Regions from separate parts of the Homo sapiens genome. Here region 1 is linked to region 2. The links are contacts of gene promoters, found by promoter capture Hi-C in blood cells and fetal thymus (Javierre and others, 2016). All regions are on one chromosome and are shown on one strand. The core of a region is centred on a gene start or on the middle of the fragment in contact, and the rest is flanking DNA. Distances in the headings are between cores, read along the strand shown. Region 1 holds the start of PON3 (paraoxonase 3). Region 2 holds the start of DYNC1I1 (dynein cytoplasmic 1 intermediate chain 1).

Region 1 (6,315 bases), core at 2,147-4,646, 380 kb before region 2:
TTGAAGGGGCTCAGGTTTTTAAAAACAATTCAGGAAAGGCGTTTTCTTTGGTTTCTTCTGCTTTCCAGCTGCTAGCACAAACCACCTCTAAGACTAGGGAGTGCAAGGTTCAGATTACTTTATTTTTTAGAAATTGAGAGGCAAGAAAAGGCAGAAAACTCAAATCAAAAGGGTACTTTTTCTGTATTTTTAAATATAGCAATAAAATAGAAAATCATATCCCAAAATAAGCTATCTCATCACATTCTAATAAATAAGTCACAGTTCTTGGCCCTAGGGAGTTTACAATCTGATAGTGAAAGAGAGAACACTGCTAGCTATAATACAAGGCATGTGGCAGGTGTCATAAGTGAATCGGAGCTTCAGAGTGCTGTGAGAGTTCAGAGGAAGGAGATGAATTTTGCAGCTGATTTTAGTAAGCAGAGACAGAGGAATCAGTAAGTTTGGAGGGAATTTCATAAGCAAAGGTGAGAAGGTGAAAGAACATATTCCCAGAACAGGGAACACAATCTAGCCTGATTTTATTTTATTTTTCTGTTAGCAATGTCAGGAAGAATTGGAGCTGTGGAGCCCAAATAAGCAGGTGTGGCATTAACTAGTAGGTGAGATTAGCCCATGTCTCACGTAGAAGCATGAGGGACAAGCGGGGAACAATGGTTCCTGGATTTTGAACTGAATCTTTTGAGAATGGGGGTACCATACATAGGAAAAGTCTAGAAGCAGAGCTGGTTGTGGGTGGGAGGATGAGGGAGAAAACGACAGAAATGTAAAATAGATTTCAGCTTAGGGAGAGTTTGAGCTGGAGCTGCCCTTTAACTGACTAAAAAAGAAGGGCTGCAGTTTGAAAGGTTAGGGACTGGGCCATGGATTTTTTATGAATTTTTTTAAAAGAAGGTAGGTAGGCTGTGAGGTTCCTTCGTTTATTATTTTTTTTAAGACAAAGTCTCGCTCTGTCGCCAGGCTGGAGTACAGTGGCGCGATCTCAGCTCACTGCAACCTCCGATGACTCCCTGGTTCAAGTGATTCTCCTGCCTCAGCCTTCCGAGTAGCTGGGATTACAGGCACACGCCGCCAACATGCCCGGCTAATTGTTATATTTTTAGTAGAGATGGGGTTTCACCATGTTGGCCAGGATGGTCTCGATCTCCTGACCTCATGATCCGCCCCCCTCGGCCTCCCAAGTGCTGGGATTACAGGTGTGAGCCACTGCGCCCAGCCTGCTGTGAGGTTCTTGAGGGGAGGGGCTGAGTCATATTATTTGAAAAAAAATAACACTTGAAGCCAGGAATGACAATAAGGAAAGGGAGGGAGGAAGGAAAGAAGAAAGAAGCAAAAAAAGGAAAGGTAACAGAGGACAAGGAGGAGAGTGAAATACCACAGATGGGAAAGGAGAAGCATTCAGTGAGGGGAAAACCAGGGAGTGGTCAATGACATTCTTTAGGTAATGTGGAGAGATGTCAGTAAGGAAATGTGCTGAGAAAAACCCACAAAGAATGTCATTTAGTACACCCCTGAAGACCTTGCATGGGGCAGAGTGGACGGGGCAGATGTCCCACTGGGAGGGCTTAAGTAGTGACAGGTAATTAAATGAGCTGGTAGGGCTCAGTCAGGTGGATGACGACCAAGAAGCTGTGCTGGCTCCTCTTGGTACTGTCACATACATACCAAGTTCCTCAATAAGGTGGCAGTTTTCAGGTTCTACTGGCTCCACTTCTCGAGAGGCATTCACCCTTTCTCTGTAGAAGATAAAACCCAACCCTGGAAGTCAAGGCACAGCATTCAAAATGTATGTTTAAATGTGGACTTCAATCATCTTCGTGTTGGTTAACTATCTTTATCATAATTTATGAATGACATAACAAGTAAGTAGGTACTTCCTTTCATGTTTATTTACATAATGTAGACATTATGTGGGTATTTTACCTATATCAGCTAACCTTACCCAGTTATTGCTGAAAAACTGTATAATATGATTCAACATGGAAAATTCTGCTGCCCAAATAAAAGACACTATTTAATAGTATGAGTAATTGAACAATATTATTAATTTAAATGCACGAAATAGCCCTAATTTTCTAAAGTATCGTCTGTTATAAATCTGCACTTAATCCCCTACAGTCTTGCCCTTTGAACTTTTCCTTCCAAACTGCTTTCCCAAAATTCAACAGGGTCTCCTAATAGTCAAACTCTATCACTTTTGCTTTAATTTTTAAATTTTATGCTGACTTACTCCGCAAGTATGTAAATTCATTAAACCAACCACAATTTAAACAATTGGCCGATTTATTTTTCAACACAATTTTCTTGTTTCCAGAGTGAAAAGGAATGTTTCCACATTCTTCTAATATCAGGGATAATTTAAAATTTTTATTAAAGTATATTCAGAAAGACTCAATACTTATCTTACAGTCATTTATTTAAAAAAATACCCTTAGATCTACTTTATTATTATTACTATTATTTTATGATTCTCCATGTGGTTGCACTGGGAGCAAATGTAACAATAAAACTCTCAAACTGGAAGTATTACTAATAGGCACCAGGCACCTCAACAGATTCTAGACGTGATCCTCTAAGAAGACCAGCTTCAACTAAGAGAAATACATAAACACTCAAAGACAACTGAAAGCAAGCAGAGGCTTTCGATCCACTCATGAATGTGTATTATCACTTAAAGGTTCTTCTTTCTAGCCCAGTATTGACTTTTCCTGAGACATTTCTAGGCTGGCTATCACCATTGTATCTTCCACTTCAAAAGGTCAAATGCCTACAAAATGCCAGTTACCGCCTGCAGGTTTCAGCTGGTTTGCCCTGCTGTCTGGCCAGCTCTTTAAATCTAGGATAGGTTCCATAACCCAGTACTTCTGCATGGTTAGCCAGACCTGGGCAATGTCTCAGTCAGCCGTAAACATCCAACTGGTAGCCTGATCCTCTCTCCCAAGTCCGGCGTTTCCAATGGACGTCCTTTTTTCCCAAGCAGAATGTTGAGGGCGAGCTGGGAAAGGGGTCATCACGTTCAGAAAGTAAAAGGGGGTCATGACCTTCAGAAAGCAAAGTGGGGGATCATAACCTTCAAAAAATAAATGGGACTAATTCGGCTCGGCAGTCTTTGGAAACGCAAGTAGCTCACTTTCCCCATAAGCGAGTCTCAAGGGGCGGTTTGCTGGGTGAGATGGAGGAGTGAGGTTCCAAAGCTGCTCTTTCCTACCCGCTAGGAAGGGGGCGCCAGGCAGCCCCTGACCTCACTTGGAAGAGGAGAGAAAGAGAGTCGAAGACGCCCTGTCAAGATGCCACTCACCTAAACGCCAGGAACATCTCCCCGACTAAGGACAGGCCGACCCCCAGCAGGACCAGCGCCACGAGCTTCCCCATGGTCTCGGGGTGCCCAGCGGCGACTGCGCGGCGCCGAGAGCTCTCGGGGGCGCGGCGGGCGGTTCCTGCCTCGCGTACGGATTGGGGCCCGCTCGGCCCCGCCCGCACACGCCTCCTACTTACCTGAGCGGCCCGGGTGCCGCAGCAGGGCGCTGACGAGTCCCGCCGAGCCCCGCCGCCCGGGTTCAAGGCCGCCTTCACGCCCACGATTCCTTGTTTTTTGGGCAGAGGTCAAGGCTCAACGGAGAGGGAGCCCGGGACCGAGTTGTGGTGGGAGTTTGCTCCTAACACCCGCGAAATCCTACCTCAATTCCTCAGATGGCCTGAGGGAGAAACCGGAGGGCCCGGGAATGGCGGGGAGCTCCAGTTCAGAGCCGGAACTCCGGACTTCTGCAAGGCCAGACGTGAGGCGACACTGAATTGCTCCCGAGACGCGGGAAGGGCGAAGGCAATCGAAGCGAAGAGCTTTAACTCATCTTCTCCAGGATTTGGGGCACGGGAACCTGTCTCCTGACCTTCGTGCCTTACCTCGGAGTGTGCTGCCCAGACGGACTTGTGAATAGCTGCGTCTGTCCCCATAGTTAACGGGAGAAGGAAACACCAGGAGAAAAGAAGGAAAAGACAGGAAACGGGAAGAGGAGCAGAGGCGAGGAAGGGGAAGGTCATTTCCTTGGCAGGGTAGGCCCTCTTTCTTCTAGGTCTTGAGTTCCTGCCAGGCAAGAAATGCTCTTTCCCCTCTCCTGATGAACACCAGGTTGGAGGGGGAGGAACTGAAGATGCGGGAAGACTTGGGGAGTTCGGGCAAAGTAGCACATTCAAGCATGATCTATTTTTATTTACGGACAGAAAGAAATATTAGTTCTGTTAGGTTCCACCGAGTAAACTATTTGTTGAGAGAGCAAGATTTGCCAATCCTGGGGGTATTAAGGAAAGAAAAGGTGGTCCCTGACCTATGGGATACATGATTCTAGTATGAATACGTAATTACAGGATGAATAATGAAGCCCACCGCTTATGCAGTACTGACTGTGTGCTTTGCCTGTGCTGACACCTATGTTAACGCATTTAATTATCAACACAATCTCTGGAGTGTGGGTAGCCTTACCCCAATTTTACAGGTGAGACCTGCAGCACAGATTGCTTATGTGGCTTGCTGTAGGTCAGGCAGCTGTCAAGCAGCAGACTCCAAAATCTGGGCCCTTAACTGAGCTGCCTCTACCATGCTGCCTCTAGAAAATCTATGGAAGAAGGGTTGTATTAAAAGGACAGTGTAACGTCTTGAATTGTATAGATTAGAGTTCTTGTTAAGATGACTAATGTTAAAAGAGTGCAAGCAGAGGAGGAATCGAAGTCAGGAGGGCTCACAGAGCTGAGGGGCCTGGGGTGTGATGTAGACATGCATGCAGGGTTTGGGAGTCAGGCTGCCTGGGTTTGGATCCAGCCTAGATAAAGTACTCAGCTTTATTGAGCTACAGATTCCTCTTCTGTAAAAGAACGTCCACCTCATAGGTAGCTTAAAATTAAATGTGATAATGAGTGTCAAGTGCTCTGCACTGTGCTTGATACGTTTTATGAAGTCAGTAAAGATTAACCACTAATTAATTCTGAACTTTGCTTGAGATTGTAGGCTCCTGTGGGAAGGACTCCATCGCATTGATCACTGGGTTTTCCCGTGCCATCCATAGAACTTTGTGCTTAATAATGACTCAATAAATATGATTAGATGGATGGATGTAAAATATGGACTTGGGAGAAAGAAAAATTAGAAGAATAAAAAATAAATGGAATGAATAATGAAATAATAATAGTCATATTATTATTTCACTCAGCGTTTGCATGCCTTGTCACATTACTTCTTATTAACCTTACCTACAAAGAAGTAAAGTGAATTGCTTGCTGCAAGTTTGATGGGACTAAAAAGAAGGAAAGTGAGGCTTTGAGGCTTAGAGAGGTAAAGTAATAATTCACTTAAGGTTACATAACTAAGTGTCAGTGCCTCCATCTGGACTCAGATCAGGTGACTCTAGAGCTCATGTTCCTTATCACTGTGTTTGCAGCATAGCATGAAGAAGGGGGTAAAGAAAGAAGCGTATTCTTGGGCAATTGATTGAAGTTCTGTGTTAGCTATAATTTGTTTAAAAATTCTTCACTTTAGGCAGAGGAGTCTCTGTGTGTGTGTGTGCATGTGTGTGTGTGTGTGTGTGTGTGTGTGTATACATTAACTTTAAACCCTAGAAGTGGTTAGTTTTTATTCGAATACCATAATCAGTAATTCAAATCCCCAGCATGGTAAATTAGCATTAAAGAATTCCAAACTTTGGAGGCCACTGTATCGAGTGTCACCATCTAAATCTGCTCTTGGCAATAGGCCAAATTGACTTGGTCAAGAGGCCACAGGTACATCAGTATTGTAAAAGGGGTTTGTTGACTTTGAAAGAGCAGGACAGATAAATTCAAAAGGCCTAAATTCAAGATCCAATTCCATTTGTAGTTGGCCCTTTAATCTTTTGAAATCACTTATCACCACCTCTGGACCCTTCTTTCCTTATATGTATAGTGGGGCTTTCAAAGAGCTAATGTAGACCAAATTCAATGCTATACGTTTAAACAGTAAGTAACACAATACTATATATAGATCTAGGGAGTCCCACACCATTGATAATCAAAATGCCATTAAGGGGGATGCAGAATATACATGTGGTATAATTCTAAGGTATAAAATTAGGGGAATTACATATTATCCACATATGTGTGTGTGTGTGTGTGTGTGTGTGTATATATATATATATATATAAACAATCTAGACATAAACTGAAGAGTAGTTACTTTGAGAGCAGAAGATTGGGGTCGTGGAGAGTGGGGAGGTCAGTGAGTATGGAAGGAGACTTTGCTTTTACTGTACGACCCTCTGTAATGTTTAAAATTTTCAAACTTTATATCTTG
Region 2 (6,392 bases), core at 3,566-6,065:
GTCATTTTGACTTTCAAGTTATATTACATAAGACATATATTTTGTAAGGCTACAGCTGCCATAGATAGGAATTCTGATGTATCTGGGCAAAGTAAGATGAAAACTTTCTGGAAAGAGTTCACCATTCTAGATGCCATTAAGAACATTCATGACTCATGGGAGGATGTCAAAATATCAACATTAACAGGAGTTTGGAAGAAGTTAATTCCAACCCTGTTATGGTTTGTTTATTTGTCCCCTCTAAATCTCATGTTAAATTGTAATCTCCAATGTTGGAGGTAGGGCCGGGTGGGAGGTGTTTGGATCATGAGGGCAGATCTTTTATGAATGGCTTGGTGCCCTCCCCATGGTAATGAGTGAGTTCTCACTCTGAATTCACAGGAGATCTGGTTGTTTAAAAGACTGTGGCACTTTCCTTCTCTCTCTTGCTCCCACTCTATTCATGTGATGCATCAGCTCCCCCTTTGCTTTCTGCCATAATTGTAAGGTTGTTGAGGCCCTCACCAGAAGCAGATGCCAGTACCATGCTTCTTGTACAGCCTGCAGAACCATGAGCCACAGTAAACTTCTTTTCTTTATAAATTACCCAGCCTCTGGGGTTCCTTTATATCAATGCAAATGGACTAATACAAACCCTCATGGATGACTTTGAGGGGCTCAAAACTTAAGTGAAGGAAATCACTGAAGATGTAATAAAAATAGCAGGAGAACTAGAATTAGAAGTAGAGTCTGAAGATGTGACTGAATTGCTGCAATCTCATAATAAAACTTCAATGAATGAGAAGTTGCTTCTTATGGAAGAGCAAAGAAAGTGATATACTGAGATGGGAACTACTGCTGGTGAAAATGCTATGAACATTGTTGAAATGATGACAAAGGATTTCGAATATTACATAAACGTATTTGATAAAGCAGTGGCAGGGTTTGACATAGTTCACTTCAGTTTTGAAGGTTCTGTGGATAAAGGGCTACCAAACACACACTGCATGCCTGTATCAAAATGTCTCCTGTACCTCATAAATACTAAATACCTTCTATGTGCCCATAAATTTGTTTAAATGCTATCAAAGAGCATGACATGCTACAGAGAAATCTTTCATGAAAAGAAGAATCAATGGATGAGGCAAACATCATTGTTGTCTTATTTTAAGACATTACCACAGCTACCCCACCTTCAGCAACAACCACCCTGATCAGTCAACAGCCATCAACATTGAGGCAAGACTCTCCACCAGCAAAAAGATTACAACTCACTGATGGCTCAAATGATTATTAGCATTTGTTAGCAATAAAGTATTTTTAAATTAAGACATGTATATGTTTTAGACATAATGCTATTGCACACTTAATAGGCCACAGTATAGTGTAAACATAACTATTATATACACTAGGAAACAAAAAAATGTGTATGACTCACTTTTATTGTGATATTTGGTGATGTGAAACTGAGCTCACAATATCTCCGTAGTATGCCTGCATTTTCTTTTTCTACAATTTTGACTACTTTAGATACTTCATATGAGTGGAATCATACACTATTTTACTTTTTGTAACTGACTTATTTCACTTACGACAGTGTCCTTCAAGTTCATCCACACTGTAGCATGTGACAGGATTTTCTTCCTTTTTAAATATAAAATTTTACTGTATGCATATATATTCCAAATTTTCTTTACTTATTCATCTGTTCATGAACATTTGGGTTGCTTCCACCTCTTGGCTATTGTGAATAATGTTGCATTGAACATGAATGTGCAAATATCTCTCTGAAATCCTACTTTGAATTATTTTGGTTAAATACTGAGAAGTGATAATATTATAACTAACTTTGAAATTGAGGGCTTAATTTGCTGTGGGCATACATTACAGGCTATTTGTCATGAATACAACTTGGCAAACTCAGGCCTTTTAAATCCTGACCTGGATTCTTTGAATGAACTTTAAACTTGTCTCTTAAGCTTTTGCTTGTTCAATCCTCTACCCGAAGATAGCCCCAGATGACTCTTCCCAAGTGTCATTCTCTACTCAAAGGCCTTTAATGATTCTCCATTATCTGCTCTACAGCCCTTCTCAAGGCCCCAGTTGGCTCTCCCATGAGTCTGTCATGATCCAAAAAGCTGGCCCACTCACTATTTGCTGAGTACACTTTGTTCTTTCTCTTCTTTGGAGCTTTGTTTACGCCTGAAAATGTTCTCTGCTCTTCATTTCTGCTCTAAAACCCTACCTATTTCAATACTATCTATTGTCATAATTCTAATTTCCTCCTTCCATCTCATCCACCCAAACCATTGTACTGCTTTGGGTATTTCCTTATTGTTTGTCCTTAATTATGTTGCCTTTACCTATCCTTGCACCTCCAACTGGATTTTAACCCCTTCAAGAAGAGGGATTATATTCTCTTTTTTAAATCATGTGAAGCTCCAAGCACAATGCTTTGCAGGTTGTGTGCGATGCAGTACAGGGGAGCCCCCAAATTAATTGGAGCTTAGCTCGCAAAGGTTCTTGGCTTTGCCCAGGAAAGAATTTAAGGGTGAGCCAGTGGTAGGGTTGAAAAGTACAGCTTTGTTGAAGTGGCAGTGTTACAGCTCTGATGGTGTTACAGCTCTGTGACTGTTCCTGCAGAGCAAGGCTACCCCACAGGCAGAAAGTAACAGCTCAGGGTAGTTTTGCAGTCATATTTGTACCTACTTTAATTACTTGTAGATCAAGGGGTAGTTTATGCAGAATTTTTAGGGAAAGGGTAGTAACTTCTGGGTCATGGGGTCATTGCCATGGAAGGGAGTGGTAACTCCTGGGTTTTGCCACGGCAGTGGTAAATTGACATGGCACACTGGTGAGCATCTCTTATGGAAAGCTGCCTCCGCCCCATCCCTGTTTTAGCTAGTCTTCAATTTGGTCCAGTGTCTAAGTCCCAGCTCCTACTTCGTGGGCACTCAACAATGCCATGTTGAGGCCAGGCATGGTGGCTCACACCTGTAATCCCAGCACTTTGGGAGGCTGAGGCAGGCAGATCACTTGAGGTCAGGAGTTCGAGACCAGCCTGGCCAACATGGAGAAATGCCATCTCTACTAAAAATACAAAAATTAGCCGGGCTAGGTGGTGTGCACCTGTAATCTTAGCTACTCAGGAAGCTGAGGAAGGAGAATCGCTTGAACCCAGGAGATGGAGGTTTCAGTGAGCCGAGATTGTGCCACTGCATTCCAGCCTGGGCATCAGAGGGAGACTCTGTCTCAAAAAACAAACAAACAAACAAACAAAACAACAACAACAACAAAAGCAATGCCATGTTGGAAAGACCAAAATACAAAGTAGTTAAAGTACAAGCTGCAGATGAATGGGAATTCAAATCTCAGCTAGATCACTCAGTGGTTATGGAACTTGGGCAAGGGAGTTAACTTCTTTGACTCAAGTTCCTTTTCTGGAGGCATGGCATTCGTTATATGTACTACATAATGTTATAGAAAAGTTAAAGAAAAATGTATGTAGAATTGACATGTATTAAATATTCAGTCACGGTAGTGGCAAATATTTATTTCCTAGATTTTTCCTTCTGGAATACCTTGAATACCTTCTACCTAGACATTTAACCTCTTCATTTCTAGCCATAGTTACAATCGCAGTAGATTAGCCAGGGAGGCCAAAGTTTTAGAATAAGGATGGCCATTTACAGATGAGTATGTATTCATACTGTATTCATACTAGAATCTGTATTTATTTTGAAATTACTGTAGTACTTGTGAATTAATAAGTTCATAAATATTTACTGAGTACCCATTATATATCAGAATGCTGTTCTAGATACTAAGAATACAGCAGTGAACAAGATAGCGTCCCTGCCCTCCACTAATTTACATTCTAATGTGTAAAAATACACCACAGATGTGCAAGAAATATGATGAAAAGCTCATCTATAAAATGATACCAAACCCCCTAACATCCCAAACTCAATTTTTTGGCCTTATAACTTAGCTGTTGTGGCAAGCTTGTTTTTTGCAGAGTCCAATAATAGTTACCCAGATTTTTTTTTGTTTCCCCGAGACGGAGTTTCGCTCTTGTTGCCCAGGCTTTGAGTGCAGTGGCGGGATCTCGGTTCACCACAACCTCCGCCTCCCGGGTTCAACCATTCTCCTGCCTTAGCCTCCCGAGTAGCTGGGATTACTGGCATGCACCACCACGCCCGGCTAATTTTGTATTTTTAGTAGAGACGGGGTTTTTTCATGTTGGTCAGGCTGGTCCCCCAACTCTCGACCTCAGGTGATCCGCCCTCCTCGGCCTCCCAAAGTGCTTGGATTACAGGCGTGAGCCACCGCGTCTGGCCAGTTACCCAGATTTTTAAAAGCTGGGACTTTAAGAAGCAATGTGAAGACAAGCTACACACACACCACACCACACACACACACACACACACACACACACACACAGACACACACACTTAATTCTTTTTTCTTCTAGAAAAATTGGGATCAATCAGACCTATAAGTCATTGTGTACAACAGGTAGATCTGAGCTTTATTTCTATTTAAATGACCTTAAGAAGTGTAGTTGCCTGGGAGTGAAAGTTGTTCAATGGTGGCATTTCAGCAGGAGCTCCCAGAATATTGAAGCTCTTCTCTTTGCAGCAACTGAGGTCTAAGTCCTACCGACGTTAGAGGGATAGACGAATTGACCTTTCCAGGTCCTCTGCTCGCCACCAGCCTACGGAGCGGCGCCACCCCCTCCTGGCGAGACCGGGCGCGGAAGACGCGGAGCGGAGGCCCTCCCTCAGGAGGGGCGCGGGCGTGGAGGGCGTGGGCAGGGGGCGGGGCGAGCCCCGCAGACTGAGTGCTCCGGGGAGCTGTCAGTGTCAGGCTCTGGGAGAGAGGAAGTGATCGCTCCCGGAGGAGCGCGAGCCGAGCGGCCGGCGCAGCGTGAGACAGCACATCCTGCCCGCGCCGGCCCCGCCACCTTCGGGAGCCGCCTGCACCAACGCTGCCGCCGCCCAGGAGCCGCCGCCGGCTCGGGGAGCCCAGTTCCGCCGCTGCCGAGCGCGTCCAGGTAAACTGGAGCGGGATGTCGCCGCTCCCCGGACGGCCGCCTCCGCACCTCTCCCCAACCCTCCCCACCCCGGTGTCGTCTGCGCTGGGAACCAGGCTGGAGCCGAGGCCCCTGCAGCCGCAGCCGGACCCTTGTCCTGGCCCCCTGCCCAGGCTCCTGCGTGCTCCGCTGAGCCCGAAGGCGGCCAAAGCCCCCCAGTGACACCCCCCTCTCGGCAGAGCCGAGAGACTAGGGCAGAGAAGGAAGGGTCGTGGTGTCACCACCTGGTCGCCCACCTTGTGGGCTGGGAAGGGCGTCCCAGTGCGCCCCGCCTCGGTCTTCCCCGGGGGAGCAGTGGGCGAGCGGCGCTGAAATCTGCACCCCTCTGGGCCACCGGCTGACTGCCCCTGGAGGAGGGGGAAAGCTGCAGAGGGAGGGGAAAGGATGCTGTTTGATTACATTTCGAGCTGTCTGCAAAGCTCTTAGATGCTGTCACTACCCTGCAAGTCGGAGGGAGCGAATTCACTTCCAGCAGGGCATTAATTAAACACTTCAAAGCGAGAAGATGCCAGTTTCTCTCTGCTGCGAAAAAGTGTGGCTGGGGGATGTTGTTTTGGTAAACACCTTCACGGCCGCCTGGCTCTCCTTCCCCCGCTCCCATTCGGAATCGCTCTGGCCTTATAAATCCGTGCGTCGTCATCATAAGGGCAGTGATCCTGGCAGCGCTGATGGGAACTGAGTGTGCGGGAGTCTCATGACTTGTACCTTGGCTAATAAGATTAAACAGAAGCCCAGGATCAGGACAGGAAATTACATAGGAGATCAGAGACTCAACAACATGCAGAAGATGGAATATATTCGCTATTCTGGCCTCTACTAATCCTAGGTAAGGGGCAGGAACAAGTAGCCAGCCATTTTCTTGCTTGGAATGCCTTTCAAGTGGGCATTGTAGACTTATTGTAGTTCAGAGTTGTGAAGAATTGCTTCCAAATATTCCAGATTAGCAAAAAGTATAGCTAACAGTAAGGCATAGGCAACTGCAGGTGACAACCCAACGCCTGATGTTAACACAGACATGGGTAACCAGTCTGTGTACATACTTTAATTGTGGAAATTATAGAGATATACGTTGATCAGTGTTAGTAAATTTGAAAAGGGAATATTCAGTGCAATTTGCAAGCTGAGGGTACTGGTGAGAATGTAATACTACCTCTAATTATTTAAAATGCCAAGTTTGTTCAAAAAGGTTTGGTGTGGAAAAAGGGGTCCTAACTCAGCTCTTTTGATCATATTTCTCAATAAAATAAAATCTGAAACACCTGCCACTGAGTTACCACATGTTCTCTTCATAAGAACTAACTCTCGAATATTTGTTTAG

Evidence for each region. Contacts are between HindIII fragments. The CHiCAGO score rates a contact against its expected background, and 5 or more counts as called.
Region 1: the fragment with the promoter of PON3 here is called in contact with the fragment with the promoter of DYNC1I1 in region 2 in 4 of 17 cell types (monocytes, M0 macrophages, M2 macrophages and 1 more); the score reaches 10.0 in monocytes.

The regions. Positions count from the first base shown.
Region 1 is chr7:95,392,979-95,399,293 of GRCh38, forward strand. It overlaps PON3 (paraoxonase 3), which reads right to left and starts at 3,397. Exons shown (of 9, transcript NM_000940.3): 1 at 3,299-3,397; 2 at 1,666-1,736. The coding sequence starts at 3,372. LOC107986822 (a long non-coding RNA gene) reads left to right here and starts at 3,494. Exons shown (of 2, transcript XR_007060439.1): 1 at 3,494-4,050. The HindIII fragment of the contact is 14,130 bases long and covers 1-6,315 here.
Region 2 is chr7:95,767,739-95,774,130 of GRCh38, forward strand. DYNC1I1 (dynein cytoplasmic 1 intermediate chain 1) reads left to right here and starts at 4,816. Exons shown (of 17, transcript NM_001135556.2): 1 at 4,816-5,035. The HindIII fragment of the contact is 2,753 bases long and covers 3,982-6,392 here.